Regions from separate parts of the Homo sapiens genome. Here region 1 is linked to region 2. Evidence: promoter capture Hi-C in 16 types of primary human blood cells and fetal thymus (Javierre and others, 2016). All regions are on one chromosome and are shown on one strand. Each heading gives the region's core, a stretch centred on a gene start or on the middle of the fragment in contact. The rest is flanking DNA. Distances are from core to core; before and after follow the strand shown.

Region 1 (7,106 bases), core at 545-3,044, 790 kb before region 2:
GAACTCACATGGGTGTGGCTGGGGCTGAGATTCTGGCTGGCTGCTCACTGGCTGTGTGTCTTTGAGCGAGTCATCCAGTGTCTCTGGGCTTCCCTGATTGCCCTGCTGACTGCTAGACTGTGGAGGGTCAGTGGGCTTCACCACTTTTTCTTTTTTTTAAATAGAGGAATAAAGTGAGATTTCCACTTCAATATGCTGTGCTTTTTTTTTTTTTTTTTAAAGGAAGTGTCAGCTGGGCGCGGTGGCTCGTGCCTCTAATCCCAGCACTTTTGGAGGCTGAGGCAGGCGGATCGCTTGAGCCCTGGAGTTTAAGACCAGCCTGGGCAACATGGCGAAACCCCAGCTCTACAAAAAATACAAAAATCAGCTGGATGTGGTGGTGTGCAGCTGTGGTCCCAGCTACTTGGGAGGCTGAGGTAGAAGGATAGCTTGAGCCCGGGAGATAGAGTTTGTGCCACTGTACTCCAGCCTGGGCGACAGAGCAAGACCTGTGCCTCCAGAAAACAAAAGGAAAAGGAAAATATCTACGGGCTGGGATGCAAAAGAGCAGTAGTGACCGGAGGGAGAGATGGGAGGAAGCATTGTTCTGAATGTCGTTCTCCTGACTGGGGCTTCCTTGATGCACTTTTCTAGCTTTCTGGCTTTTTGAGCTGAATGACTTCAGGAGGGGGATAGGTAGATGTCACTCGCCCTGGTTCCCATGCATGTTATTTTAAGCTTAGTATTTCATCTCATACTTGTGTGCAGGCCTACAGGTCAAAGATTTTTTTCTCTCCTTTTTTTTTTTTTTTTTTTTTTTTTTTTGCAGTGGTGAAGGGTGTAGGGAAGTGAGAGTGATGATCTGAGAGTTTAGACATCTATGGTAATCCTGTTAGCTTTCAGAGAAAGTTTACATGAGTTTGAATATCTTTGCTAATCGCATGTGTTGTAACACACCGGATATGTTTTGCATACTTTTTAACCTTCGTTGGCAGCAGGGATAGAATCACTTTTCTTCGAAACCTTTATATACAGCAAATAGGGTAATGACACTGTTCTAGATATGCCACAGGGATATTTGAATGGCACTCTGGGATACTAGTCCTCATTTTGTTGAGGTTTGGTATCTATGAGCCCATGAACCTGAATATAGGAGACCCATATGATTCACCTCCTAGTAGATTATACAAAATGAGGCTCTGGGAAAGGATGGCAAAAAGCTTAATAGAAGTGTCTTTAAAAAATAGTCATTTTTGGCTGGGCATGTTGGCCCATGCCTGTAATCCCAGAACTTTGAGAGGCATAGGTGGGAGGATTGCTTGAACCTGGGGGTTTTAAGACTAGCTTGGGCAACATAGCAAGACCCCATCTTTATTTAAAAAAAATTTAAAAAATAGTCATTATTCCCCAAGATTAATTTTGTAAAAAGGTTATGCTTAGAGGGGGTTGTTTTAGAGGCCATTAGGTAACATATTACAGATTTAATCAGGGTTTGAGGAAACCACCTTCTAGCTGCTACATCTTAGGGAAAAGCACCTTATTATCCACCTTCAGTCTCAGTGTTAGCAGTCTCCTGTTTTTCAACACAGATTGAATCTGCGTGTGAGCAGAAGTCTGCTTATGGTCAGAACCCTTAAAGGGGAAAATGTAAAGAGTCACATGTATCTTCAATTTGGAGGAATTACCAGTATTCTTGAGAAACTGAAAGTGATACCAACAGTTTTCTTGTTCCTTTTACTGTCTTGAATTTGGTCTTTAAGATAGTTGAGCCACCAGCCCATGGTAGATATTGTAGAAAATACAGACATACTAGATAGAGCATCTTTCCAGACAGTTGATGTTCTGGGTAGAGAAGCCTAATATCTATGACGTATGAACAGTGACTTTCAGCCCACACTTCATGCCTGACATTGTGTTTACTATGTATTTTACATTTTATTTAATTCTCAGAATGACCCAATATGTTAGGTACTTTTACTGTCCCCACTTGTGCACAAGAAGAAACAGTGACACATTAAATAACTAGGCCAAGGTCAAGCTGCACATTTGGATTCAAACTTGGGGAACCTGACCCTAGAGCCTGCATTTTAAAACTTTTGCCATTCTGAAATGACCAGAGAACAGCACCAAGGGCAAAATTCTGTAGTACTGATTACAAGACAAAGACACAAGATGTAAATGACCTGATCTGTACTGTAATCTGTGTAGGAAAATTCATGAAGGTTAAACTATAAATTGCAGTCTCAGAAGCAAATGCAGGATGGGGCTAGGTACTCGCTTATGAGACCATGAGTGTTCAGATTGGAGTGGCTTCCTATGGCGAGTGACATTGAATCAGGCATGCTTTCCTTCTTATCCTCCTAGTAAACTTCCTTGCTCTTCAAAACCCAAATCACCCCTTTGAAGCTTTCTTTCCTTCAGATAGAGTTAGTTTTCTCTTTGGTCTTCTGAGGCTGTTTATATGTACGCCAGGACTACAGGATGTAACTGCTAGGCCACCTTCAGTTCTTTGAAGTTAGGGACCGTCTTACTCATCATTGTATCCCAGGGGCTTAATTTAAGCAATATCAGTTACTTAGTGAGTATTGAATTCTCATTTCTCCAACAAATAGCTGAGTTGCTTAGTCACTCCAGAATTAAAGCTAGGTTTAGAATAATTGGAGCGGTGTGATGGCATGTGCCTATAGTCTCAGCTTCTCAGGAGGCTGAAGTGGGGAGGATCGCCTGAGCCCAGGGGTTTGAGGCTGCAGTGAGCTGTGATTGTTCCACTGCACTCCAGTCTGGGGTGATACAGCAACACTCTGTCTCTAAAAAAAAAAAAAAATTAGGCTGAATGCAGAGGCTCCCACCTGTGATCCCAGCATTTTGGGAGGCCAAGGTGGGAGGATCACTTGAAGTCAGGTGTTCAACCCCAACCTCGGCAACAGAGCAAGACCCAGGCTCTACAAAAATGAAAATAAAAGCCAGATGTGGTGGCATGTGCCTGTAGTCTCAGCTATTTGAAGCTGAGGCAGGAGGATTGCTTGAGCCAAGGAGTTTGAGGCCTCAGTGAACTAGGATCATGCCACTGAACTCTAGCCTGGCAACAGAGACCATGTCTTTAGCAAAAAAAAAAAAAAAAAGAATAACTGGGGCAGAAAAATCTATATTTAAGAGAATTTATCTGGCGGTAAAGTACTGTTTGGATTGGAATTGGAAAACCTGGAAACCAGGTAAAAGCAATTATAGTAACGTAGGCAGGAGATGATTAGGGCTCCGTAGAAATAGTGGTGAGGGAGAAGGTACAAACCTGCAAAAGAGTGAGAAGCAACAGTCCGCAGACCTGATGGTGTTTGCTGTGGATGGAGAATATGGGGAAGAAGCAAAGGCGATCTCAAATTATGTCACCCTTCTGCTTCTTCCAAGTTTTAATTTTTTTAGGTGATTATGGGTCTTGGTGGACTTAGTAGTCCCTTAATAAATGAGTCAATGGCATAGATCTCTGAACTGCTGACCCATGAGCAGCAAAGTAAAAGGAGCAGATAAAGTCAGGGCAGGCACAGTTGCAAGCTTATCACCTTTGCAGTTTTAACTGTTTCTGGAACAGAAAACTTGGGTTTGTTTTAGATCTATGCAGAGCTCTCCAAGAGTATATTCTGAGCCAAGCTTAATTCGTCATCCTGCCCAAGGATTTTAAGTGTATGTGCCATTTGCTATTGAGGTGAGCCAAGTAACTCTTGGGGAAGCATAGGCTTATGGGGTTGTAATACCTTGTGCTGCCATCCTGGCAGCTCTGAAGACAAGAGATGGTTCCTAGAAATCAGGAGCCTCATGCTCACACTGTTACCTGCAGGCTTATTGCCAGTCCCCAGAGCCATAGTTGTGCTGATAGAGCTAAAATACAGTTTCTAAAGAGTCTGATAACACCAACCTGGACTTTAGAAATGAGGATTTTAAAACATTAAGTGTTTAAAATTGCAGTATATATTTACACAGAAGCAGATAAATTGTAAAGTTGATCATCTTTGTGTAACTAACACTCAGATAAAGAAATAGACTATTACCAGAATCCCTCCTCCTCCAAGGTAACCACTAGTCTGATTATAACACCATAGATAAGTTTTACTTATTTAAATTATTATTATTATTATTTTTTAAGAGGCAAGGTCTTGCTCTGTTGCCCAGGCTAGAGTGCATTGGTGCAATCATACCTCACTGCAGCCTTGAACTCCTGGGCTCGAGTGATCCTCTTGCCTCAGCCCCCCAAGTAGCTGGAATTATAGATGTGGGCCACTATGCCTGGCTTTTTTTTGTTGTTGTTGTTAAAATTAATATAAAGTGAATAATGAAAGGTTGTGTTTTGGTTTCTTTCACTCTACATTGTGTTTGTGAGATTCATCTGTGTTGTTGCATGTAGCAATATTAATTCCTGTTGTCTTATAATATTCTCCTCTATCAAGAAATCACTATTCATCCATTCCAGTGGTGACGGATATTTGGGTTCTTTTGACTTTTTGGGTATTGTGTATAATAGTGCTGTGAACATTTGTGTATGTTTTCGTTTGGTATACATGTAAAAATTTCTGTTGGGTATATATCAAGGAGTAGAATTGCAGGGTCATAAGATATGCATATGTTTAGCTGTCAGTTTTCTAGAGTGGTTGTACCAGTGTATACTCCCACCAGCAGTACATGCATGTGCTGGTTGCTCAGCCTCCTCATCAACACTTATTATTGTCAGTCGTTTAAATTTTAGCCTTTCTGGTAGATGTGTAGCACTATCTTATTTTAAATTTGTATTTTCCTGATAACTAATGAGGCTGAACACTTATTTATAGGCTTTTTGAATACCCTCTTTTATAATTAATTATTTGCCTGTCCAAAAAAATTGAAGTCCTTTGTCTTTTTTTTTTTTTTTACTGATTTGTTGAAGTTATTTTATGCTCTGATATGAGTTCCCTGTTTCCATATTGCAGATAGCTCCTATTTTGTGGCTTTCTTTTACACTCTCTCCATTGTGCCATCTGATGAACATTTCAACTTACCAGTCTTTTCCTTTATGGTTAGTGGTTTATGTGTTCTGTTTAAGAAATTTTTCCCTACCCCTAGCTCGTGAAGATACTCTGTATCTACAATCCAACTGGAATTTTTGTGTGTGAATGTGTCTCACTTAGTTTTAAACTTATCTTACCTTTCCTTAGTTTGTCAAGATCTGTCTGAGGCTTAAATCCCAAGCACAAGGTAGGAGGCAGTCAGATAAATTTTCTTATTCTTCATAAATTAATGCAGCGCAGGAGATAAAGTTTTTGAATAGCCTTTGGGAATGGAAGCCTTGTCTCCCTACCACACGATGGCACTTGGATTTTGTTTTATGTTCTTTGTCCCTTTCATTACTTGAAAGTGTAATCTGCTTGGAGTATTACCTCTTCCTCACTTGCAGTTAATTCCTTAACTCACCCAATCTACTTTCTGGCTTCACCACTTGCTTGAAACAGCTGGCCAAGGTTCCGGTGGCTTTGTTGCCAAACGGGAGCCAGGGAATTCTCCAGTATCCTTGAACCAGTATCCTTGAATGTGCCTTCTATGTCTTTTCTACCTCTGTTCTGATTGTGTGATGTTAGCAAATTCTTGGCCTCCTGATTTTTCCCGCCTATACATTTTACATAGCTTCATTTTGAAATCTAGTCTGAAAAGCCCCACTAGATATGATTGGGAGAAAGCCCTTAAACCTGAGGGCATGAGTCTCTAGTTTCAAAGTAGGCCTGACCACTTTTGTTGTTTTGCTTTGGTCTGTTTTCATTTGGTATCTAAGACCAAATAAAAATGAGATCAGCCATAACTACAGATTAGATAATTCCTTATGGTTTATGTAGCAGTTTTACATGGATCGCCTGATTGGATCTCATATCACCCTGTGAGGCAGGTATTGTTGTTACAGATATAGAAATGATTAAAAATGCAAACAGCACTTATTTGTTCTTGTTGAGAAACACCTGGTAATGCCCCGGATTTGGTTTTGGAGCTTCCTTTTTCATGTAGCCATCATTTAATGGGAAAATGCATCTGGGTTTTTTTTTTTTTTTTTTTTTTAAACTAGTGAAGTGTAGTAGTGAGAACGGGGGAAAGAGTAGAACAAGGAGTTGGATCTGTAACTGACTGCAAACAGTCCAGTGAGATAACTCAGTACCTTTGGGCCAGCCCATCTGGGATTCTTAGGAGTACTTTTGTCCTTCCACTTTCTGCAGGAACTGTAACTTCTTGGGTTGGGGCAGAGAGTAAAGGGTAGATGGGACTGGGAATGGTGGCAGAGTTGGATTCTTTTTGGAGATTATCAGGAACTTTCCAGTAATCATTTATTTCTCAGATCTCTTCCTCAAGAATCTAGTACTAAATAAATGGTGGTGGTTGATTGCCTGGATGTGATAAGCTCAAGTTTGCTGCAGGATCTACTTTAAAATGATTCAACACAAGAAGTTATGGAGAGATATGATTTGCAGATGTGTCCTTAGTTTCCAGGAACACATTTTGGCTCCAGAAGAACTATTGATTTATTTTAACATGTGCTATTTTTTTTGATTCTTCTGCATCTTCCCACAGCCTTTTTATTTTAAATAGCAAATCCTTTTTTCAAATGAAATGGCACACCAGACTCGATTTATGAAACAGACTACGGCGTTCTTTTATTATGTACACTCATTTTAGAGGTTTGCATTTATAGCATTTATTTATAAAGTCAGTGAGAACAGTGAGGCTGTTTTGATCAACACAAACACTTGAAACATTTTAGAAGATTGCAGTCTTATTTTAGCTTCACTTTTCAGTTTATTTTTGGGTTTGAAAAAATAGATAGTTTTTAATAAAACAGCTTGGCTTGCAAGCCAAGGATATTTTTTAGTTAAACCGATATGGAAGTCTGAAAGAGGAGTAGGGGGCTAGGCTAATCTTTATCCTAAATACAAAGTTCAGGGAAGAAAGTCTCTCTCACTCACAAGCGCTCAAAGTATTGTACAATAATTCATCATTCAGTGTGTCGCAGTTCAGGTGTCATTGCAGAGCCATCATTCTGTGACCTCAGTGTGGGAGGAACGTGGCCCTGTGTTCTGTGTAGTGAGTGCACTTGTGTGTGTTGGTTGGTGTGCACACGCTTA
Region 2 (7,165 bases), core at 1-2,500:
CCTCCTGGCTTTGAATGTCCCGCACCTGGTCTTCTGCCTTCACTGAGCAGAGACGTCATTCCTGCGGCAAGTCCTAAGTTCCCGCTCCCCAGGGCTCCTCCACCAGGAATGTTCTTCCTTTCCCATCCTTCAAGGCTCAGCCTCCACTGACCTCCCCACCCTCCTCTCCTCCACATGCACAGGGAACTGGGTTGGCCTCTTACCATCCGACCCGTTCCCCGTGCTTCATGAGAAAGATGCAGCGACAGCTCATGGGGTCACCTGGCTTGACTGCCCGACCTGCTACGTCCCAGTTGAGTCACCGAGGGAAAATCACTCTACCTCTCGCAGCCTCATTGCCTCATCTGCGAAATGGGCACACCAGCCATTGTTTTGAATGACTGGGTGGAATCAAGGTGGTAAGACATAGAAACTGACACAGAATGGGTCCCATCAGGCTCTACACCCATGCCCGTCACCTCCCGACTCAGCCGCCCAGAATCGGGTGATTGACATGTTATGTTTGGCTTGAAACTGGCTTTCCTTCCCCAGCCCGCTACATTTTGGAGGCTGGTTTTCAAGATAGAGGGTCGTCTCAGCCACATCCCTGCTGCTGGGCCCCTAAGCTGTGCTGAACAAGAGACCCCAACCTCATTTCTGCCCAGCCTCACTGCATGAATCTTCTTTGCCTCAGTGTCCCCAATTGTGACTTGGGCACAGTCCTCCGAGCCCTCCCACTGTGACACTAGATGCAGCAGGCAGGGAACAGTCCCTCCTGGGCAGAGAAGGCACCCTGGTCCCAGCAGAAAACCAGGGCTGGAATTACCTTCTGTTTCGGCTTCTTTCTCAGAAATCCATTCCGTGTGCTGGGGGCAGTCTGATGGGCTTCTGGGGGTGGCAGCTGGGTTCAGCGTGGGGGTGACAGATGAGGGTCTGAGAAAGCAGGCAGAGGCCTGGGGTGAGAATCCACACCCAGCCCGAGTCACCAATCAGGCTGTCATAAGACCTGTCACTCTGATGACGGGCAGCTGGGCCTCCAGGCAGGTGTCCCACAGAGCAGCAGACAGAGGAAAGAGACGGCAAGGAAGGTACCAGGCGGCCGCAGCAGGGATGCACGGGCCGCAGACAGACAGACACAGCTGCGTGGCTGTCAGCCACACTCAGGGAGAGGCAGGCAGAGGGCCAGACGCCGAGCTTACGGTCACTCAGCAGAGAGACGCCAGTGGGTCTGTCTGAGGCCGCTGGCTGCCACCCAGCCGCATGTGCAGAGTGGGGAGGAAGAGGAGGATGTGGTGAGCCGCTCCCCGCCAGCCCCGCCCACCCGCAGCTGGGCTCCTCCTGGGAGGGAGTGAGAAAGAGGTGGGAGGGGGCCTGGCCCCACAGCAGGCACCCACTGTCACCAAAGGTCACCTGCAAGTAAGACATTTGGGGCCATCGGGGTGACACTTCCCTCTTAGGGACCTGTGACATCATCCCCACAGGCCTCTCAGTCATAACCCATGAGGCAGGCAGTGCCTCCTGGAGCCACCACATTGCACAGATATGGAAACTGAGGCCAGAGGTGTGAAGATGTGGCACAGTTTCACCCGTGGACCCAGAGTCCTCAGTGGCCGACTCCAGCCCCTCAGCACAGAGAGAAGGACCAGAACCTTGCCCAAGGTCCCACGGAAGCCCCTTTTTCAGACTTTGCAAACCAGCCTGTTTCTTATTCCTGAGCCTTACCTGCCTAATAGGGTCTGAGCTTGGGACCCTCTGCTCTGGCTTGACCCCCATGCCTCTCTGCCTCCATTTCCTTTGGATCCAGTCTCCTGCTGCAGAGCTCCAGGGAGCAGGACCCCTTGGGCACGTCACATCACCTCTCTGAATGCCTCACTTTGCCCATCTGTCAAATGGGGGCACCTAGCTATGAGGAAGAGGGCAGACATTAACACATGAGAATTCAAGAAGAAAATAGAGAAAAGAAATTCTCAAGAGAGTTTTCATCTTGCTAACATGCCAGAGGCCCATGAGAGGGTCAGATGTTTCTGGAAGACATTCAAGAAACCAGGAGACAAAATGTAACAAGCTTAATGCCTAGTGCAGTCTCCAAAGGAGAGCAAGAGAATTGCTACCACCACCACCGCTACCACCACCACCACTACCACTGCCATCACCACCACCTCGAATTACTTTGGTGCCTACATGATCTCACTTTATCCCACAAAGTGTGAGGCAGACAAGATTAGTCCCATTTTACAGATGGAGAGACTGAGGCCCAGAGGAGTGAAACGTCACACAAGCCAAGAAGAATTAGAGCTGGGATTTGAACCTGGGTGTGTTTGATTCCTAAGCTTATACCAGGCTGTGAAAACGGGGCCATACCAGGATGAAATGTCCCACAGTTGGGGGAGGCTATTTTATGCTGTTTTGATAACAAGATGCAATTTGTAGCTCTCCCTGCTGACTCATTTTTGGGAATCAACTTGCTGTTGACTTTCGTGACCACTCCAGAGAAAAAAGAGAAAGCGTCTTGCTATTCTTTCTTTCTTTTTTTTTCTAGCTGTTTTTGAGGAACTTGGTACAAATTCCCCTGTGGTTGATTTGAGGGATCCTGGCCCTGTAGAGCTCTTCCCAGCTACCGAAGTGTGTCGTGTTCTCTGGAGAACGAACCTTGGGAAGACACCAGCTTTTGTTTTTCTTTCTCTTGATCTTCGGGGTGAATTCTCTGATAACATGCACTGAAATTTGTAGTGGTTGAAAGATCAGGAGAAGAGACAGTAAAAAGAGCTAATATTTGCTGAAAGCTCATTGTGTGCCAGGGTTTTAAGGACTTTAAAGATGCACCCTCTCATTTAAACCTCAGAAATACTCGAGAAGGCTGTGTGCAGCGGTGCACACCTATAATTCCATCATTTTGGGAGGCTGAGGTGGGAGGATCGATTGAGGCTAGGAGTTCAAGACCAGTCTGGGCAACATAGCAAGACCCTGTCTCTATAAAAAAATTTAAAAATTAGACAGTCATGGTGGTGCACGCCTGTAGTCCCAGCTACTCTGGAGGCTGAGGTGGGAGGACCACTTGAGCCAAGGAGCTGAAGGCTGCAGTGAGCTATGACTGTAGTGCTGCACTCAAGCCTGGGCAACAGAGCAAGACTCTGTCTTCAAAAATAAAATCCCCAAAATGAAAAAGAATGAGTCTAGAAGATAGTTATCATCATCATCATCATCGTCCCTGTTTTACAGATGAGGAAACTGAGGCTCAGAGAGGTTAAGTGACTTGTCCAAGGTCACACAGCTGATGAGTGCCAGAGTTGGGATTTGAACTCAGTCATTTGGGCTCCAGAGCCCGCACTCTTAACTCACTACACTGCTCTGGGGTGTGTATGAAAACAAGGATATTCAATTTCTCCTCCCTCCCTCCTGCCTGCCTTCTTTATCTACCTGCTTTCTACCCACCCACCTACCTATCCACCCATTCATTCTTCTCTGCACCCACCCACCCAGCCATTCCTTGCTTCCTCCCCCTAATATTTATTGAGCAGGCTCAGAGAGGTTAAGTGACTTGTCCAAAATCACGCAGCTTGGCTACATCCTGGGGCTAGCCCACAGAAATATACACACAGTGACAGCCCCCATGGAGCCTATATTCTAGTAGGGAGAGTTAGACAAAAAGAAGTAACAGACAAACTCAATGTAAACTGTACTAAATGTCATAGAAAACCAATGAGAGATCAAGGTTGTGACATTTGGGGGTACACTAGGTGCTAAGAAGTGCCCAGCCATGGGAAGAACATTATCGGCAGAAGGATCTGCAAGTGCAAAGGCACTGAGGTAGGAAAGAATGTGGCTGGCTCCAGGAACTTGAGAACAGCATGGCGTAATACAGTGAGCAAATGGAGGAATAGTAGAAGGTGAAGGCACGGAAATCACACATCTACACCACATGGGACCTCACGGTTTTGGGTGAGGAAGGTAGATTGTTCCAAAGGAAATGGGAAGTCATCATTGGAGGGTTTCATCTTAAGAGTGGCTTAATCCAGTTTACATTTTCAGTTCAGGCCAGGAGTTGGGGAATGGGTGGGATCAGCAGGGGTCACAGTCCCTTGGTGCTTAAAAAGTAGATGCATTTGGAGCTGCCAGGCCCATGTCCACTGGGGTAAACATGAGTCCCCTCAGAAATAGACATGTGGTCCCTTGAGGGGTTCCTCTGGGTCTGTAAATGTCTCATAAGTATGGCCTCTATACCCTTGGAAGGAAGGTGCCATAGGATCTCAGCGGCCCTCCAACCATGCCTCAGTGCTGATAGCTGGTCAGCGGGGAGGAAGTGGTCACATTTGCATTTCAGCCAAGGGGCCTCCTGGGAAAAAATAATTGACACACCCCCTCCCTCAACCCATTTCCTCTTTTTTATTTTTATTTTAAGAGCTTTATTTAGCTATGTTTTACATAACATAAAATCAAGCCACTGTAAATGTACAGTTCAATGATTTTTAGTGAATTTATCGAATTGTGCAATTATAACCACGATCCAATTTTAAAACAATCCCATCACTCCTGAAAGGTTCCTTGTGCCTGCTTATAGTCAATCTCCATTCCCATTCCCAGGGCCACTCGTCTACTTTATGCCTCTACTGATTTTGCTTTTTTTTTTTCCTAGGCATCTCATATCAATATGTTGTCTTTTGTGTTTAGTTTCTTTCAGCATCGCGTGTTTGGGGTTCAACCACGTTGTAGCGTGTGTTGGCACCACATATCTAAAAATCCATTTTTAGGCCAGGCGCGGTGGCTCATGCCTGTAATCTCAACACTTTGGGAGGCCAAGGTGGGCGGATCACTTGAGATCAGGAGTTCGAGACCAGCTTGGACAACATGGTAAAACCCCGCCTCTACTAAAAAATACAATAATTAGCCTGGTGTGGTTGCACACGCCGGGAGATTGAGACCAGCCTGGCCAACATGGTGAAACCCTGTTCTACTAAAAATACAAAAATTAGTTAGGTATGGTGACGTGCACCTGTAGCCCTAGCTACTCAGGAGGCTGAGGCAGGAGAATTGCTTGAACACGGGAAGTGGAGGTTGCAGTGAGCAGAGCTAGTGCCACTGCCCTCCAGCCTGGGAGACAGAGCGAAACTCCATCTCAAAAAAATAAAAAATAAAAATTGATTTTTATTGCTGAAGAATATTACATTGCATAGATATGCCACATTCATTTATCCTTTCATGAGATGATGGACATTTGGAGTATGTCCACTTTTTCCTTTACTACAAACAAGCATGCTATGAACACTTGCATGCGAGTCTTTGTGTAGACATGCATTTTCAAATCTTTTGGATATATACCCAGAAGGAGACTTGTTGAGTTAAAGGTAGTTTAACTTATTAACTTTTAAATAAGTTTAACTTATTAAGAAACTGACAAACTGTTTTTCACAGCAGCTGCCCTGTATTATATTCCCACCAGCAATGTCTGAAGGTTCCCATTTCTCTACGTCCTTGACAATATGTATTTTCTTTTTTTTTTTTTTCTTTTTTTTTTTTTTTTTGAGATGGAGTCTCGGTCTGTCGCCCAGGCTGGAGTGCAGTGGCGCGATCTCGGCTCACTGCAAGCTCCGCCTCCCGGGTTCACGCCATTCTCCTGCCTCAGCTTCCCGAGTAGCTGGGACTACAGGTGCCTGCCACCACGCCTGGCTAATTTTTTGTATTTTCTTTTGTAGAGACGGGGTTTCACCGTGTTAGCCAGGATGGTCTCGATCTCCTGACCTCGTGATGCGCCCGCCTCGGCCTCCCAAAGTGCTGGGATTACAGGCGTGAGCCACCGCACCCAGCAGACAATATGTATTTTCTGTTGGTTTTTATTATAGCCATCCTAGCGGATGTGAAGTGGTATCTCATTGTGGTTTTGATTTGCATTTCCCTAATGGCTAATGATGGTAAGCATCTTTTCATGTGCTTGGTAGTCATTTGCATATCTTGTTTGGAGTAATGTCTATTGAAGTCCCTTGCCAAATTTTATTTATTTTATTTTTTTTTTAGACAGAGTCTTGATCTGTCTCCCACACTGGAGTGCAGTGGTGTGATCTTGGCTCACTGAAACCTCTACCTCCTGGGTTCAAGCGATTCTTGTGCCTCGGCCTCCCGAGTAGCTGGGCTTACAAACGTGTGCCACCATATCCAGCTAATTTTTGTGTTTTTAGTAGAGACGGGTTTTCACCATGTTGACCAGGCTGGTCTCGAACCCTTAACCTCAGGTGATCCGCCCACCTCAGTCTCCCAAAGTGCTGGGATTACAGGCATAAGCCACCGTGCCCAGCTCCTTGCCAATTTTTAAATTTGATTGTTCATCATTTGTTGTTGAATTTTAAGAGTTCTTTGTATATTCTGGAAACTCACCTTTATCAGATATATGAATTACAAATATTTTTCCCATTCTGTGGCTGTCTTTTCACTTTGTTGATAGTGTGCTTTAATGCAAAAAAAATGAAAAAAAATTGACTATAGATTCATGGGTTTATTTCTGAACTCTAAGTTCAATTCCATTGATCTATATGTCTAGCCTTGTGCCAGGATTATCACACTGTTTTGATTACTGTAGCTCTGCAGTAAGTTTTGTTTTGTTTTGTTTTTGTTTTTGTGTTGTTTTGAGACAGAGTTTCGCTCTTGTTGCCCAGGCTGGAATGCAATGGCACAATCTTGGCTCTGCAGTAAATTTTAAAAATGGGAATTTGAGTCCTCCAACTTTATTGTTTTGGCTTTTCTGGGTCCCTTGAAATTTCACATGATTTTTAGGATCAGTTTTTCCATTTTTTAAAAAAGGCCATTGGGACTTTTATAGGAATTGCATTAAATCTATAAATTACTTTGAGGAGTGCAATGTTAAATCTTCCATTACATTAACATAGAATTTAAAAAACTTTATTTAGGTCTTTTCTAATTTTTTCAGCAATATTTTATAGTGTTCAGTGTACAAATCTTGCACCTCCTTGGTTAAATTTATTCTTAAGTATTTTATTATTTTTGATGCTATTATAAATAGAATTTATTTAATTTCCTTTTGGGGTTGTTTATTGCTAGTATATACAAACACAATTTATTTTTGTATGTTGATCTTATACCCTGTCACTTGGCTGAATTTATTAGCTCTAATAATTTCTTTGTGCGTTCTTTAGAATTTTCCATATATATGATCATGTCATCTGCGAATAACAGTAGT

The links. The method cuts DNA at HindIII sites, captures the fragments that hold promoters and counts their contacts. A CHiCAGO score of 5 or more calls a contact.
Region 1: a fragment that was not itself captured here is called in contact with the fragment with the promoter of IL21R in region 2 in 1 of 17 cell types (monocytes); the score reaches 5.2 in monocytes.

The regions. Positions count from the first base shown.
Region 1 is chr16:28,182,370-28,189,475 of GRCh38, reverse strand. The region is part of intron 1 of XPO6 (exportin 6); the gene reads left to right. It also overlaps the pseudogene RNY1P10. Among named protein-coding and RNA genes, the nearest start is that of XPO6, 26 kb to the left of the region's middle. RefSeq lists a silencer at 1-108 and enhancers at 501-550, 1,635-1,804. The HindIII fragment of the contact is 1,186 bases long and covers 1,202-2,387 here.
Region 2 is chr16:27,396,259-27,403,423 of GRCh38, reverse strand. It overlaps IL21R (interleukin 21 receptor), which reads right to left and starts at 1,250. Exons shown (of 9, transcript NM_181078.3): 1 at 806-1,250. RefSeq lists enhancers at 619-738, 631-1,173. The HindIII fragment of the contact is 2,346 bases long and covers 1-2,046 here.